Regions from separate parts of the Homo sapiens genome. Here region 1 is linked to region 2. The links are contacts of gene promoters, found by promoter capture Hi-C in human tissues and cell types (Jung and others, 2019). All regions are on one chromosome and are shown on one strand. Each heading gives the region's core, a stretch centred on a gene start or on the middle of the fragment in contact. The rest is flanking DNA. Distances are from core to core; before and after follow the strand shown. Region 1 overlaps ADGRE5 (adhesion G protein-coupled receptor E5). Region 2 holds the start of GIPC1 (GIPC PDZ domain containing family member 1).

Evidence for each region. Contacts are between HindIII fragments. The study calls those that stand out against the background at their distance.
Region 1: a contact is called between a fragment that was not itself captured here and the fragment with the promoter of GIPC1 in region 2, in 2 of the 25 tissues and cell types used here (dorsolateral prefrontal cortex and spleen).

The regions. Positions count from the first base shown.
Region 1 is chr19:14,402,054-14,409,449 of GRCh38, forward strand. ADGRE5 (adhesion G protein-coupled receptor E5) reads left to right here. Exons shown (of 20, transcript NM_078481.4): 12 at 544-809; 13 at 2,330-2,509; 14 at 3,695-3,886; 15 at 4,278-4,504; 16 at 4,647-4,713; 17 at 4,816-4,907; 18 at 5,008-5,176; 19 at 5,855-5,956; 20 at 6,039-6,670. The coding sequence ends at 6,068. DDX39A (DExD-box helicase 39A) reads right to left here. Exons shown (of 11, transcript NM_005804.4): 9 at 7,250-7,394; 10 at 6,984-7,131; 11 at 6,745-6,899. The coding sequence ends at 6,883. Among named protein-coding and RNA genes, the nearest start is that of DDX39A, 14 kb to the right of the region's middle. RefSeq lists enhancers at 1-680, 3,102-3,731, 3,304-3,598, 3,732-4,361, 5,744-5,973 and 1 more and a silencer at 3,876-4,395. The HindIII fragment of the contact is 6,072 bases long and covers 2,612-7,396 here.
Region 2 is chr19:14,492,360-14,498,753 of GRCh38, forward strand. It overlaps GIPC1 (GIPC PDZ domain containing family member 1), which reads right to left and starts at 3,768. Exons shown (of 9, transcript NM_005716.4): 1 at 3,678-3,768; 2 at 498-553. RefSeq lists enhancers at 3,083-4,009, 5,290-5,789 and silencers at 3,672-3,901, 4,042-4,101. The HindIII fragment of the contact is 12,252 bases long and covers 1-5,990 here.

The DNA.
Region 1 (7,396 bases), core at 4,398-6,897, 88 kb before region 2:
CCGGGAGGTCAAGGCTGCTGTGAGCTATGATCACGCCAAAGCACTCCAGCCTGGACGACATAGTGAGACCCTGTCTTAAAAAAAAAAAAAAGTCCAGGCACAGTGGCTCATGCCTGTAGTCCTAGCACCCTAGCACTTTGGCAGGCTGAGGTAGATGGATCACCCGAGGTCAGGAGTTCAAAACTAGCCTGGCCAAGATGGTGAAACCCCATCTCTACTAAAAATACAAAAATTAGCTGGGAGTGGTGGCAGGTGCCTATAATCCCAGCTACTTGGGAGGCTGAGACAGAAGAATTGCTTGAACCTGGGGAGTGGAGGTTGCAGTGAGCTGAGATCACGCCACTGCACTCCAGCCTGGGCGAAAGAGCGAAACTCCGTCTCAAAAAAAAAAAAACAAGGAACAACTAGAAACTGACTCATCGGGAGGGGCTCCTGGCGTCATCGTGGTGGACTGGCTGAGCCTGAGCTGGGTCATCTTGGGAGGGAGGATAGAGCATGGGAGGAGGACAACGGGAGTAGGCAGCGAGTGTGTCTGTTCCCCAGGCCCCGCCGTGGCGGGCATCCTCTCCATCCAGAACATGACGACATTGCTGGCCAATGCCTCCTTGAACCTGCATTCCAAGAAGCAAGCCGAACTGGAGGAGATATATGAAAGCAGCATCCGTGGTGTCCAACTCAGACGCCTCTCTGCCGTCAACTCCATCTTTCTGAGCCACAACAACACCAAGGAACTCAACTCCCCCATCCTTTTCGCCTTCTCCCACCTTGAGTCCTCCGATGGGGAGGCGGGAAGAGACCCTCCTGCCAAGGTCTCTGCTCACTCTGCTCACTTCCTCAAAGATAACCCAGGGCCTTCGCACATGCTGGGCCTCTCTCTGGGATGCTCTTTCCCGACGTGACTCAGTCTTTTATGTTTCTGGCCTTCTGATTTGGGCCTTCCCCAACCTCATTACTTATTTATTTCCTTACTTTATTTATTTAATTTAATTAATTAATTTATTTATTTTAAGACAGAGTCTCACTCTGTCGTCCAGGCTGGAGTGCAGTGGCACGTTCTCGGCTCACTGCAATCTCTGCCTCCCAGGTTCAAGTGATTCTCCTGCCTCAGCCTCCCAAGTAGATGGGATTACAGGCATGCGCCACCACACCTCGCTGATTTTGTATTTTTAGTAGAGACGGGGTTTCTCCATGTTGGTCAGGTTGGTCTCAAACTCCCGACCTCAGGTGATCTGCCCGCCTTGGCCTCTCAAAGTACTGCGATTACAGGCGTGAGCCACCACTCCCAGACTTTCTTTTCTTATTTATTTATATTTTTAGACAGGAGGGTCTCACTCTGTGGCCCAGGCTGGAGTGCAGTGGCGCGATTATAGCTCACTGCAACCTCGAACTCCTGAACTCAACCATTCCTCCAGCCTCAGAGTTTTGAGTAGCTGAGGCTACAGGCATGCACCACCACTCCCAGCTAATTTTTTTATTTTTGATAGAGACGGGGACCTCACTATTTTTCCCAGGATGGTCTAGAATTCCTGGGCTCCAGTGATCCTCCCACCTCAGCCTCCTGAGTAGCTGGGACTATAAGCGTGCACTACTATGCCCAGTTAATTAAAAACAAAAAAATTAATGGAGATGGAGGTCTCGCTATGTTGCCACAGCTGGTCTCAAACTCCTGGCCTCAAGCGATCCTCCCACCTTGGCCTCCCAAAGTCCTGGAATTACTTACAGGCAAGAGCCATCATCATCCCTGGCCACCTTCTAATGCACTATCTACATTACTTATTCGTTAGGTTTATGTCATAATCTGCCTCTCCCACTTTTTTTTTTTTTTTTTTTTTTTTTTTTTGAGATGGAGTTTCACTCTTGTCATCCAGGCTGGAGTGCAGTGGCTCATTCTCGGCTCAGTGCAACCTCCACCTCCCAGGTTCAAGCGATTCTCCTGCCCAGGACTCCCAAGTAGCTGGGATTTACAGGTGCTTGCCACCAGGCCCAGCTAATTTTTGTATTTTTTAGTGGAGACGGGGTTTCGCCATGTTGGCCAGGCTGGTCTCAAACTCCTGACCTCAGGTGATCCGCCTGCCTCAGCCTCCCAAAGTGCTGGGATTACAGGCATGAGCCACTATGCCTGGCCACCTCTCCCACTCTTATGTCAACCTCACAAGGGTAGGTACTTGTGTGTGCCCTGTTCACTGCTGTGTCTCCAAACCTGTTACATTCAGTAGGCGCTCGGTCAATACTCATCTAGTAAAAAGCAGCCCTCTTAGACTCAGCCCAAGCCCAGGACCTAAGAGTGAGCTCCAGGCCAACCTTTCTGACCACCCCCATCTGCCCACAGGACGTGATGCCTGGGCCACGGCAGGAGCTGCTCTGTGCCTTCTGGAAGAGTGACAGCGACAGGGGAGGGCACTGGGCCACCGAGGGCTGCCAGGTGCTGGGCAGCAAGAACGGCAGCACCACCTGCCAATGCAGCCACCTGAGCAGCTTTGCGATCCTTATGGCTCATTATGACGTGGAGGTAAGTAGCTGGAGGCATCCTCAAGTGCCCACAGGTAATGAGGTCCAGCTGCAACCAGACAGGCAGCTAGTTCTCCATGGAGCCCTACTGGTTGCTCAGATATATCTGCATGGTTGCACAGCCCAGGTGTCCCCACGTCACACCCTTCGCAGCCTCTTCCTTTGGCCTCTTCTCTACAACCCAGCAACTATACACTGGGTGCAGCCACTAGCTCCGCTCCTCTGCCTGTCCATCCCGTACCAGTTGTGAGATGTCAACTAAAAGCTCCCCATGGAGAGCATTCCAAGGGGGCACCACTTGCCCGTTTTTTTTTTTTTTTGAGACGGAGTCTCTGTCGCCCAGGTTGGAGTATGGTGGCACAATCTCAGCTAGTGAGGTTCAAGGGATTCTCCTGCCTTAGCCTCCCGAGTAGCCGAGATTACAGGCGTGCACCACCATGCCTGAGTAATTTTTGGTATTTTTAGTAGAGACAGGGTTTCACCATGTTGCCCAGGCTAGTCTCAAACTCCTGACCTCAGGTGATCCACCCACCTCGGCCTCCCGAAGTGCTGGGCTTACAGGTGTCAGCCACCGCACCCGGCCTCTTTTTTTTTTTCTTTTGGACAGAGTCTTGCTCTATCGCTTAGGCTGGAGTGCAGTAGTGTGATCTTGGCTCACTGCAACCCCCGCCTCCGGATTCAAGCGATTCTCCTGCCTCAGCCTCCCAAGTAGCTGGGATTACAGGTGCATGCCACCATGCACCGCTAATTTTTGTATTTTTAGTAGAGGCGGGGTTTCACTATGTTGGGCAGGCTGGTCTCGAACTCCTGACCTCAGGTGATCTGCCCCCCCTCAGCCTCTCAAAGTGCTAGGATTAGAGGCATGAGCCACCACACCCAGCCTGGAGCACCACTTTCTGTACGTGACTTCAGTAGGATCCATCGTTAAGCTGGGCCTTGTCGAAAACTGCAATTAACCAGGCAGAGAAGGGGGGCGCCTGTGGTCCAGGCCAAAGGCCCAGCAAGCACAAAAATGTGAAATCCCTAGACTCCCCTTCCAGCTGGTAAGTGTGGCCAGATCTAGGAGGGACAAGGGAGGAGGTCAGAGAGGTGGGCCCGTCAAAGTGTGGGGGGGAAAAGGGACCACAAAGAGGGCAGGAAGGCCTCATGCCCTGAAGGAACCCTGAGCACCCGGTGCCACTCCTAGGACTGGAAGCTGACCCTGATCACCAGGGTGGGACTGGCGCTGTCACTCTTCTGCCTGCTGCTGTGCATCCTCACTTTCCTGCTGGTGCGGCCCATCCAGGGCTCGCGCACCACCATACACCTGCACCTCTGCATCTGCCTCTTCGTGGGCTCCACCATCTTCCTGGCCGGCATCGAGAACGAAGGCGGCCAGGTGAGGTCCCGCCCCGCTCCCTCCTGAGCTCTGGGGTCAGGGAGGCCTGGGAGGGGTTAGCCCCGCCCACTCCCGGGGCTCAGTCGGGTAGGCGGGCCCTGGAGGCATGAGGCCCCGCCCCTGTCCGGGATCTGGCCCCGCCCACCGGGGGGTCGGGTTGTCTCTTTAAAGGGCGCTGGCTTTGGAGCTGCCTGGCCACACCCCGAGTGCCCGCTCGCTTCTGAGCGTTGTTGGGGGTGGGCCCTGGGGGGAAACCTGGCCCCCGCTCCAGACCCGCCCACCCTCCGGCTGTGGTCCCGCCCACTCTCGGGACCTGGCAGGCGACTGGCTCTGGCGCCGCATGCCCCTCCCCGCGCTGACGTCGCTCCGCCCCTCCGTCCCCGCCCCGCAGGTGGGGCTGCGCTGCCGCCTGGTGGCCGGGCTGCTGCACTACTGTTTCCTGGCCGCCTTCTGCTGGATGAGCCTCGAAGGCCTGGAGCTCTACTTTCTTGTGGTGCGCGTGTTCCAAGGCCAGGGCCTGAGTACGCGCTGGCTCTGCCTGATCGGCTATGGCGTGCCCCTGCTCATCGTGGGCGTCTCGGCTGCCATCTACAGCAAGGGCTACGGCCGCCCCAGATAGTGAGTGCAGCGAGATGGGGCAGGAGGAAGGCGGGGTGCTGGGCCTGGGGCTCACAGGCAGTGCCACACACAATGTCCGGCCGCCCTCCGTTCCGCTCCTGGCTTCCTGGGGCACTGATGGGACCCCTCCCTTCCCTCCTAGCTGCTGGTTGGACTTTGAGCAGGGCTTCCTCTGGAGCTTCTTGGGACCTGTGACCTTCATCATTTTGGTAAGTACCCACTCTCCCTCCACCGAAGCCCGAGCGCCACAGGCCCAGGCCCGGCTGGACCATCGCTCTCGCCCTCTAACCCACAATCTGCTCCCTGCCCAGTGCAATGCTGTCATTTTCGTGACTACCGTCTGGAAGCTCACTCAGAAGTTTTCTGAAATCAATCCAGACATGAAGAAATTAAAGAAGGCGAGGTGAGAGGAGAGGCTGGAAGGACTTGGAGGCGGGGCCGGGGTGAGGGGCATGAAGCTGGAGGTGAGGTGGGGGCCCACGCTGCAACCCCGCTCCTCGCAGGGCGCTGACCATCACGGCCATCGCGCAGCTCTTCCTGTTGGGCTGCACCTGGGTCTTTGGCCTGTTCATCTTCGACGATCGGAGCTTGGTGCTGACCTATGTGTTTACCATCCTCAACTGCCTGCAGGGCGCCTTCCTCTACCTGCTGCACTGCCTGCTCAACAAGAAGGTGGGGGCCTGGGCACAGTGGCGCACGCCTGTCATCCTCCCACCTATTTGGGAGGCTGAGGTGGGAGGATTGCTTGAGCCCAGAAGTTGGAGACCAGCCTGGGCAACATAACCAGATGCTGTCTTTACAAAAAAATTCAAAGATAGCCAGGGTGAGGCGCCTGTAATCCCAACAGTTTGGGAGGCCGAGGTGGGCAGATCACCTGAGGTCAGTAATTCAAGACCAGCCTGGCCAACATGGTGAAACCCTGTCTCTACTAAAAATACAAAAATTAGCCAGGCATGGTGGCACACGCCTGTAGTCCCAGCTACTTGGGAGGCTGAGGCAGGAGAATCATTTGAACCAGGAGTGCAGTGGGCCAAGATGGCACCATTGCACTCCAGCCTGGGTGACAGTGAGACTTGTCTCCAAAAAAAAAAAAAAAAGCCGGGTGTGCTGAATACCCATCTCAGCTTCTCAGGAGGCTGGGGCAAGAGGATCACTTGGGCCCAGGAGTTCAAGGTTGCAGTAAGCTATGATGGTGCCACTACACTCCAGCCTGGGTGACAGGGGGACCCGATCTCAAAAAAAAGACAAACACAAAAACACCAAGAAGGTGGGGCTGAGGGCAGAGCATGGGGAGGAGCGTGCATGGTCCCAGGGCCTGCTCCTGCCCTGACTTGGTGTCTGGGCCGGCAGGTTCGGGAAGAATACCGGAAGTGGGCCTGCCTAGTTGCTGGGGGGAGCAAGTACTCAGAATTCACCTCCACCACGTCTGGCACTGGCCACAATCAGACCCGGGTAAGGGGCTGCGCCTGGGGCGGGTGTGGGCAGGAAGGCACCAGGGCTAGCGGGGCTCAGGCCTCTGGGCTCTCCTCTCCAGGCCCTCAGGGCATCAGAGTCCGGCATATGAAGGCGCATGGTTCTGGACGGCCCAGCAGCTCCTGTGGCCACAGCAGCTTTGTACACGAAGACCATCCATCCTCCCTTCGTCCACCACTCTACTCCCTCCACCCTCCCTCCCTGATCCCGTGTGCCACCAGGAGGGAGTGGCAGCTATAGTCTGGCACCAAAGTCCAGGACACCCAGTGGGGTGGAGTCGGAGCCACTGGTCCTGCTGCTGGCTGCCTCTCTGCTCCACCTTGTGACCCAGGGTGGGGACAGGGGCTGGCCCAGGGCTGCAATGCAGCATGTTGCCCTGGCACCTGTGGCCAGTACTCGGGACAGACTAAGGGCGCTTGTCCCATCCTGGACTTTTCCTCTCATGTCTTTGCTGCAGAACTGAAGAGACTAGGCGCTGGGGCTCAGCTTCCCTCTTAAGCTAAGACTGATGTCAGAGGCCCCATGGCGAGGCCCCTTGGGGCCACTGCCTGAGGCTCACGGTACAGAGGCCTGCCCTGCCTGGCCGGGCAGGAGGTTCTCACTGTTGTGAAGGTTGTAGACGTTGTGTAATGTGTTTTTATCTGTTAAAATTTTTCAGTGTTGACACTTAAAATTAAACACATGCATACAGAAGATGGCCTTGCCTGCTGGTGGTGATTCAGAGGCCGGGCCCAGGGTGTCCGTGAAAGGCCAAGATGACCAAGAAATAGATGGGGTGGGAGCCAGGCTTCCATAATAACAAGTTTATTCTCATACAATCTCTAGCTTCTCAACAGTGGCGCCTGGAAAGGGGAGGTGAAGCTGCATGCGGGCGGCTCCGGGTGGGCGGCTCTGGCACGTGGTGGTTACCGGCTCTGCTCGACTGTAAGACATGAGATGCAGTGAACTGAAGGGCCGGGGGAGGAACCCTCTGCCCCAGACCCCTGGCCCTGCCCAAGGCACTTACTGTATGTGGAGATGTCGATTTCCTCTGGAAGTTCTGCCACATTAACTTCAAACCGGTCCTGGACGTCATTGAGGATTTTGGCATCATTCTCGTCAGACACAAAAGTGATGGCTAGGCCTTTGGTGCCAAAGCGACCCGCCCGGGCCACCTGCAGGCAGACAGGATCAGGGTCAGGCCACAGATACTACCTCAGGACTTGAGGAAAAGCAGGGCTGGGGCCCCACCCCACCGCCAGGGGAAAGCAACATGCCCGTGAGGCTGCTCACCCGGTGCAGGTAGGTGTCCGAGTCCTCAGGCATGTCGTAGTTAAAGACGATGTTGACTCGCTCGATGTCCATCCCCCGGCCAAACAGATTGGTGGCCACCAGGATCCGCCGCTGGAAATCCTTGAACTGCTGATAGCGTGACAGGCT
Region 2 (6,394 bases), core at 2,518-5,017:
GCAGTGGCACGATCTCAGCTCACTGCAAGCTCTGCTTCCCGGGTTCACGCCATTCTCCTGCCTCAGCCTCCCGAGTAGCTGGGACTACAGGTGCCCGCCACCATGCCCAGCTAATTGTTTGTATTTTTAGTAGAGACGCTGTTTCATCATGTTAGCCAGGATGGTCTCGATCCCCTGACCTCGTGATCCACCTGCCTCGGCCTCCCAAAGTGCTGGGATTATAGGCGTGAGCCACTGCACCCGGCCTTGCTACTGCCATCTGTACCAAGATTCAAGCTTCCTCCTTTTCCCAAGATCCCTACATCCTGACCACCAATTCCCAGCCTCCTTACTCTCTCTCTCTGCCCACCCCACTGCCCTGGTTCATGCCAGCTTCCGTGTCCCCACCCGTGAGGAGGCATTAACAGCAGTGAGGAAAGTGAGTGAGTAATGAATCTGCCTGCCACGGCCATAAGAGGCTTCGTGGCCTGGGTTCAAATCCCACCCCTGCCACTTACCAGCTGTGTGGCTGGGGGGCAAGTCACTTCACATCACAGGGCCTCAGTTTCTTCATCTGAAAAATGGGTGGAATTCCTGTCACTCTCAAGGTGGTTGTGGAAATCCAAAGAGATTACCCACGTATCCCATCTACACTCTGCCTCAGACTCCATTTAAGGACGCTGTTGTCATTACTATGGGTGTCTCCTCCTCTGCCCTGCCCTGCCCAGGAATATCCCAACCCTCTCTGCCTGCCAATACCTACTCCAGGCCCACTCCTCCATGAAGCCTCCCAGGCTTGCCCCAGCATGCTGGAACTGCCCCTGTGGTACAGATGGCTCAGGCCCATGAACTTAATTGCATGCTGCCCTGGCAGAACTCTTGTCTTCCAGCTTCAGGCTGTCATTTAACTTCATGTCTCTATTTTAAAACGTAAACCAGATGGCATCACTGCCCTGCCTGAAACTTTACAACAGTTTCCCACCTTCTGGAAGAAAAACTGCAATCTCCTTACTGTGACCCACAAACCCCTGCAGAATCGCTGCTCTGGGTTCATCTTCTGCTCCAACCATGTGATTCCAAACTTGGTCCAGCCTAAAGACCTTGGCCTTGCCCATCTCTCTCTCTTTTTTTTTTTTCGAGATGGAGTCTTGCTCTGTCACCCAGGTTGGAGTGCAGTGGCGCCATCTCAGCTCACTGCAACCTCCACCTCCTGGGTTCAAACGATTCTTCTGCCCTAGCCTCCTGAGTAGCTGGGATTACAGGCACGCACCACCACATCCGGCTAATTTTTGTATTTTTATTTTGTATTTGTTTATTTTTATTTATTTATTTATTTTTGAGACGGAGTTTCATTCTTGTTGCCCAGGTTGGAGTGCAATGGCGCGATCTTGGCTCACCGCAACCTCTGCCTACCGGGTTCAAGCGATTCTCTCCTGCCTCAGCCTCCCATGTAGCTGTGATTACAGGCATGTGCCACCACGCCCAGCTTATTTTATATTTTTAGTAGAGACAGGGTTTCTCCATGTTGGTCAGGCTGGTCTTGAACTCCTGACCTCAGGTGATCTGCCTGCCTCGGCCTCCCAAAGTGCTGGGATTACAGGCATAAGCCACCACGCCTGGCCTATTTTTATTTTTTTTTGAGATGGAGTCTCGCTCTGTAGCCCAGGCTGGAGTGCAGTGGCACGATCTCAGCTCACTGCAACCTCCGCCTCCCGGGTTCAAGCGATTCTCCTGCCTCAGCCTCCTGAGTAGCTGGGCTTACAGGCGTGCGCCACCACACCCAGCTAATTTTCATATTTTTAGGAGAGAGGGGGTTTCACCATGTTGATCAGGCTGGTCTCAAACTCCTGACCTCTTGACCCACCTGTCTCAGCCTCCCAAAGTGCTGGGATTACAGGGGTGAGCCATGCCCCTAGCCAATTTTTGTATTTTTAGTAGAGACAGGGTTTCCCCATGTTGGCCAGGCTGGTCTCAAACTCCTGACCTCAAGCAACCCACCCGCCTCGGCCTCCCAAAGTGCTGGGATTACAGGCGTGAGCCACCGCGCCCGGGCCCCCTTGCCTGATCTTTGCTGGGCTGGCACCCCTTGCCCACAACTACTCTCTACAGTACCACCCGCTCATATTTTATTCATAGCAGTTAGTGCCATCTGAAATTATCTTCTTTATTTACTTGCTAACTTGTTTGTTGGCTGCTTCCTTCCTTTCAGAGTGCCAACTCCTCAAAAGTAGGGATTTTGTTTTGTTCACTGTTGCATTTTCTGTGCCAAGAACAGTGCCTAGCACATGCACGTAGCAGGTGCTCACTAAATATTTGTAGACTGAGTGAATGAATGTGTCTCAGGTCCTCGTTCTGATTGCTCTCTGTGCTCCCCATCCTTGAAACAGCCCCCTAAACATGCCTGCTGTGCGGTTGCCAACTGTCCTAGGCTCCCCACTTTCCCTGGCTCCCCTCACACCTGAACACAGAGATGAAGAGCCACTTCAGCCCGGATATTGAGTGTTTGGGCTGGAATTTCAGCATCCTCACCCCCTCATCCTGGGAAGGGCCTGAAACTTAGCAACCCCACGGCCACACAGAAGCAGTGTGGCCAGCAGGAGGAGGGGAAGGGGGTTCCTGGGAGCACACAGAAGCTAGGGGAAGGGGGAAACCACGCCCAGGCTCCCCGTTCCAGCACAGTGTTGCTTTGGAGAGAAGGAGGGAAAGAGGCCTCTGATTCACTCTTGAAAAACCGGCTCCTGGGTGTTTCCGGGGAGAACGCCTACTTCCCAGCCTCGGCCCAGGTTGCCAGGGGGGAACCCAGTGGGCCCAGACCCCAGCATCCTGGCCCCCTGCAGACGCCACTCTCTTCTCTGGACCCAGGTAGTTAGACCTGCCCTCTCCAGCTCTGGGGAGAAGGGAAAGGAGGGCAGCTTCCTGTTTGAGTGGCTGGTAAAGCAAAAGACCAGCAGGTGTGGCCCTGATGATGAGTACGGGGTAGGGGGTGGGAGGGGTAGGGGGCCGGAGCTACTCAGCAACAACTGAGCCGTGGAGTTATTGGTATCCAGTCTAGTGGGTGTGACTCCAGTTCTGGACCCTGGGGCATGAGTTCCAGTCCCAGATGTGCCAGTTACTAGCTGTGTGACCTTGGGCAAGTCACTCCACCTCTCTGGGTAGGCTGCCTCACCTTTTTTACAAGAAGGCACAGCACCTCCCATGAGGTGTTTAGAGTCAATTATCCTCATGGTAAATGCCTGACACGGAAGCTCTCCAATAAATGCTAGCTGAGGTGGAGTTTTTCATGACGATTATTATTCAGACCGTGGTCCTCACTGCGTCCCCCCCAAGGCCCTGGAGGGTTCAGACGCGGTTAGCTCAGGGGAAGTGCCCAGGAAAGGGTCAGAAACACTGACCCCGCGCCTGTCCACGCTGGGATGGGGACAGTCCAGCCGGGGGACGGGGGGAGGGGCAAGCCCAGAAACCCCAGCCCAGCGTTGGGAGGCGTTTGTCCCCTGCCCGCCAGCAGGAAGGGAGCTGCCCCCACCACCCCCCACCCCCGCTTCCCCTGGGAAGGGGCCTCCGGCATCCCCGCGCGCAGCCTAGACCTCCAGTCGCGTCCACGGCGCCGGCCCCACCCTGCAGGATCGGCCGGATCCTCGCAGGCCCGCGACCCCCGAGGCCCCCGGAGCAGACACATCCTTCTCGCAGAGGCCACTCACCTGCTCCGCCGCCGCCGCCGCCGCCGCCGCCGCCGCCGCTGCCTCCGCCTCCCCGTGCGCACCCGGCTCGGCCCTCCGCAAACTCCAGACCGGGCCTCTCCCGCAGCGGCGCCTGGGGGGCGGGGCCGACGCCCGCGGCCGGCCAATCAGCGGCTGCCTCTCGGTGCTCGCAGCCAATCCGCGTCTTCCGCTTCGGGTGGACCCGACGGAAACATTCCAGAGGGATCCCTCCGCCTCGCCCGGCTCTTCCCGACTCCTCCCCTCGCCGCGAAGCAGTGGACCGTTCCGCCCCGCCTAAGCCGCGGCTGGCTGTACCACCGGAGGGCTGAGGAGGGGGGGGAGCTGCAGCTGGGCCCCGGCCAATCGCGAGGGAGGAAGGAGACAAGCGGCCAATGGGAAGGAAGCTGGGGCCCCTGAACCACGTGCTGTCGGCTGAGTGTCAGTCTCGGGTGCCCTGGGTGGTGAGGGGCGGGGGAGTCAGGTGACCTAGGCCAGGTTTCGGGGAAAGGATTCGAACTTCCGACGTCCAGGAAAGCGGACAGTTTAGGAGACCTGGGTGGGGGTCAATGGCAGTCCCCAACCCAGTTCCCTGCCCGGCCTCCTCTGCCCCAGCCTGGCCATCCTCGGAGCGGATAAAAAGATGCATTCAATCTCTGGGGGCGGGCGGGGGATCGAGATGAATAGGGAGGGTCCCGAGTTTCCCTGCTTCCTGGGCTGTACAATGGACAAAGGCATTCATTCATTCATTCGTTCACTCACTCATCAAATATTTAATGTGCCAGACTGCTCCGTGCCAGACTCTGTCCTACCTCTGAAGACGCGTCAGTGAATAAGCTGAATGTGCTCCTGGTAGAGGTAACAGAGCGTGCAAAAGCCGGACAGAGAGATACAGCACGCTTTAGGATACTGCAATATCGTGGGAGCTAGTAAATCAGTGTGGAAAGGCAAGATGCAATGAAAGACAAGGGTGAGATAGTTTATCTGCTTGTTGGTTTGTTTATGTGCTAGGTCACAGAAGGTACCCAGCCAGCCTTTCATAGATCTGTCTCCTCCATCTGACTGTGAGGGTGGAGGCTGAGTCTCTCTTGTCAACCCCTCACTCCCACCTCAGGCTGCCACACGGCAGGTTCTCAGCAAACCTGTGTGGACAAATAGACCATGTAGTTTATAAGGAAGGGGGATTTATCAGGTGGACACAGATCCAAGAAACAAGAGTCACAAATGCACCTGGACCAGGCCAGGACGCTCAGTTCCCGGGACAAGTGAGATTTCCTTGTTCTAGTTCAAACCCAGCCACTTGGACAGCAACTGGGGCTGAATGCTGTGTGTTCTGGGAACTGTAGTTCCTGGAAGCCTCTAAGTGCTGAGACCCTGCTCAAGCTCCATAGAAAGACTGGTTCTTTGCAGTTCCCAGGGTGAGATGTTGTGCATATCAGTCCCACCAGGACCTGCAGAGGGGCAAACTAAAATGGGAGATGGAACCTTGAGCTTTGCTGCTGAGGATTGCCTAGCCAGCCCCACCCAGCTGGCAAACACCGAGATTGCTGTGGCAGGCCAGGCAACAGGCACAGCTATTGTCCGTCCCTTCCTGTTCTGCTGACCTCTGCCATCCCACTGAGCAATCAGTTGCCTGGGCTGGCCAGTACCCTCTGTGGGACTGTGCTGCCTGCCCTGCTTGAGCCTGGCATCTAAGCTGCCCCCTGCACACTTGGAGAGGACGGGATGCTGAGCCCAGGGGACAGCATGACTGAGGCTGCAGAGTCCTGAGCCAGACTCCAACTGGCTCCTGTTTCCTGATGAGGAAGTGCCCGGAGAAGGGGTGATGGGATTGTGGGATTGCTCAAGACACAGAGCAGCACTGGGCACCTCCTTTCTGAATTTTTTTTTTTTTTTTTTTGAGACAGTGTCTAGCTCCGTTGGCCAGGCTGGAATGCAGTGGCAGGATCTCAGCTCACTGCAACCTCCACCTCCTAGGCTCAAGTAATCCTCCCATCTTAGCCTACCGAGTAGCTGGGACCACAGGCATGTACCACCACACCTGGCTAATTTTTGTTGTTGTTGTTGTTTGTTTGTTTGTTTTTTTGAGACGGAGCCTCACTCTGTCACCCAGGCTGCAGTGCAGTGGTGCAATCTCAGCTTACTGCAACCTCCGCTTCTCAGGTTCGAGCAATTCTCACGCCTCAGTCTCCTGAGTAGCTGGGATTACAGCGTGCGCCATCATGCTCGGCTAAATTTTTTGTATTTTTAAAAGAGACGGGGTTTCGCCATGTTGGCCAGGCTGGTCTCGAACTCCTGGCCTCAAGTGATCCACCTGCCTCGTCCTCCTGAAATGCTGGGATTACAGGCATGAGCCACTGCACGCAGTCTATTCCTTTGTTTGTCTGTTTGTTTGTTTTGAGACAGAGTTCCACTCTTGTTGCCCAGGCTGGAGTGCAATGGCGCAATCTCGGCTCACTGCAACCTCCACCTCCCAGGTTCAAGCGATTCTCCTGCCTCAACCTCCTGATTAGCTGGGATTACAGGCACCCGCCACCACATCTGGCTAGTTTTGTATTTTTAGTAGAGACAGGGTTTCATCCTGTTGGCCAGGCCGGTCTCGAACTCCTGGCCTCAAGTGATCCAACTGCCTCATCCTCTCAAAATGCTGGGATTACAGGCATGAGTCACTGTGCCAGGCCCATTTGTTTGTTTTTTGATAGAGACAGGGTCTCACCATG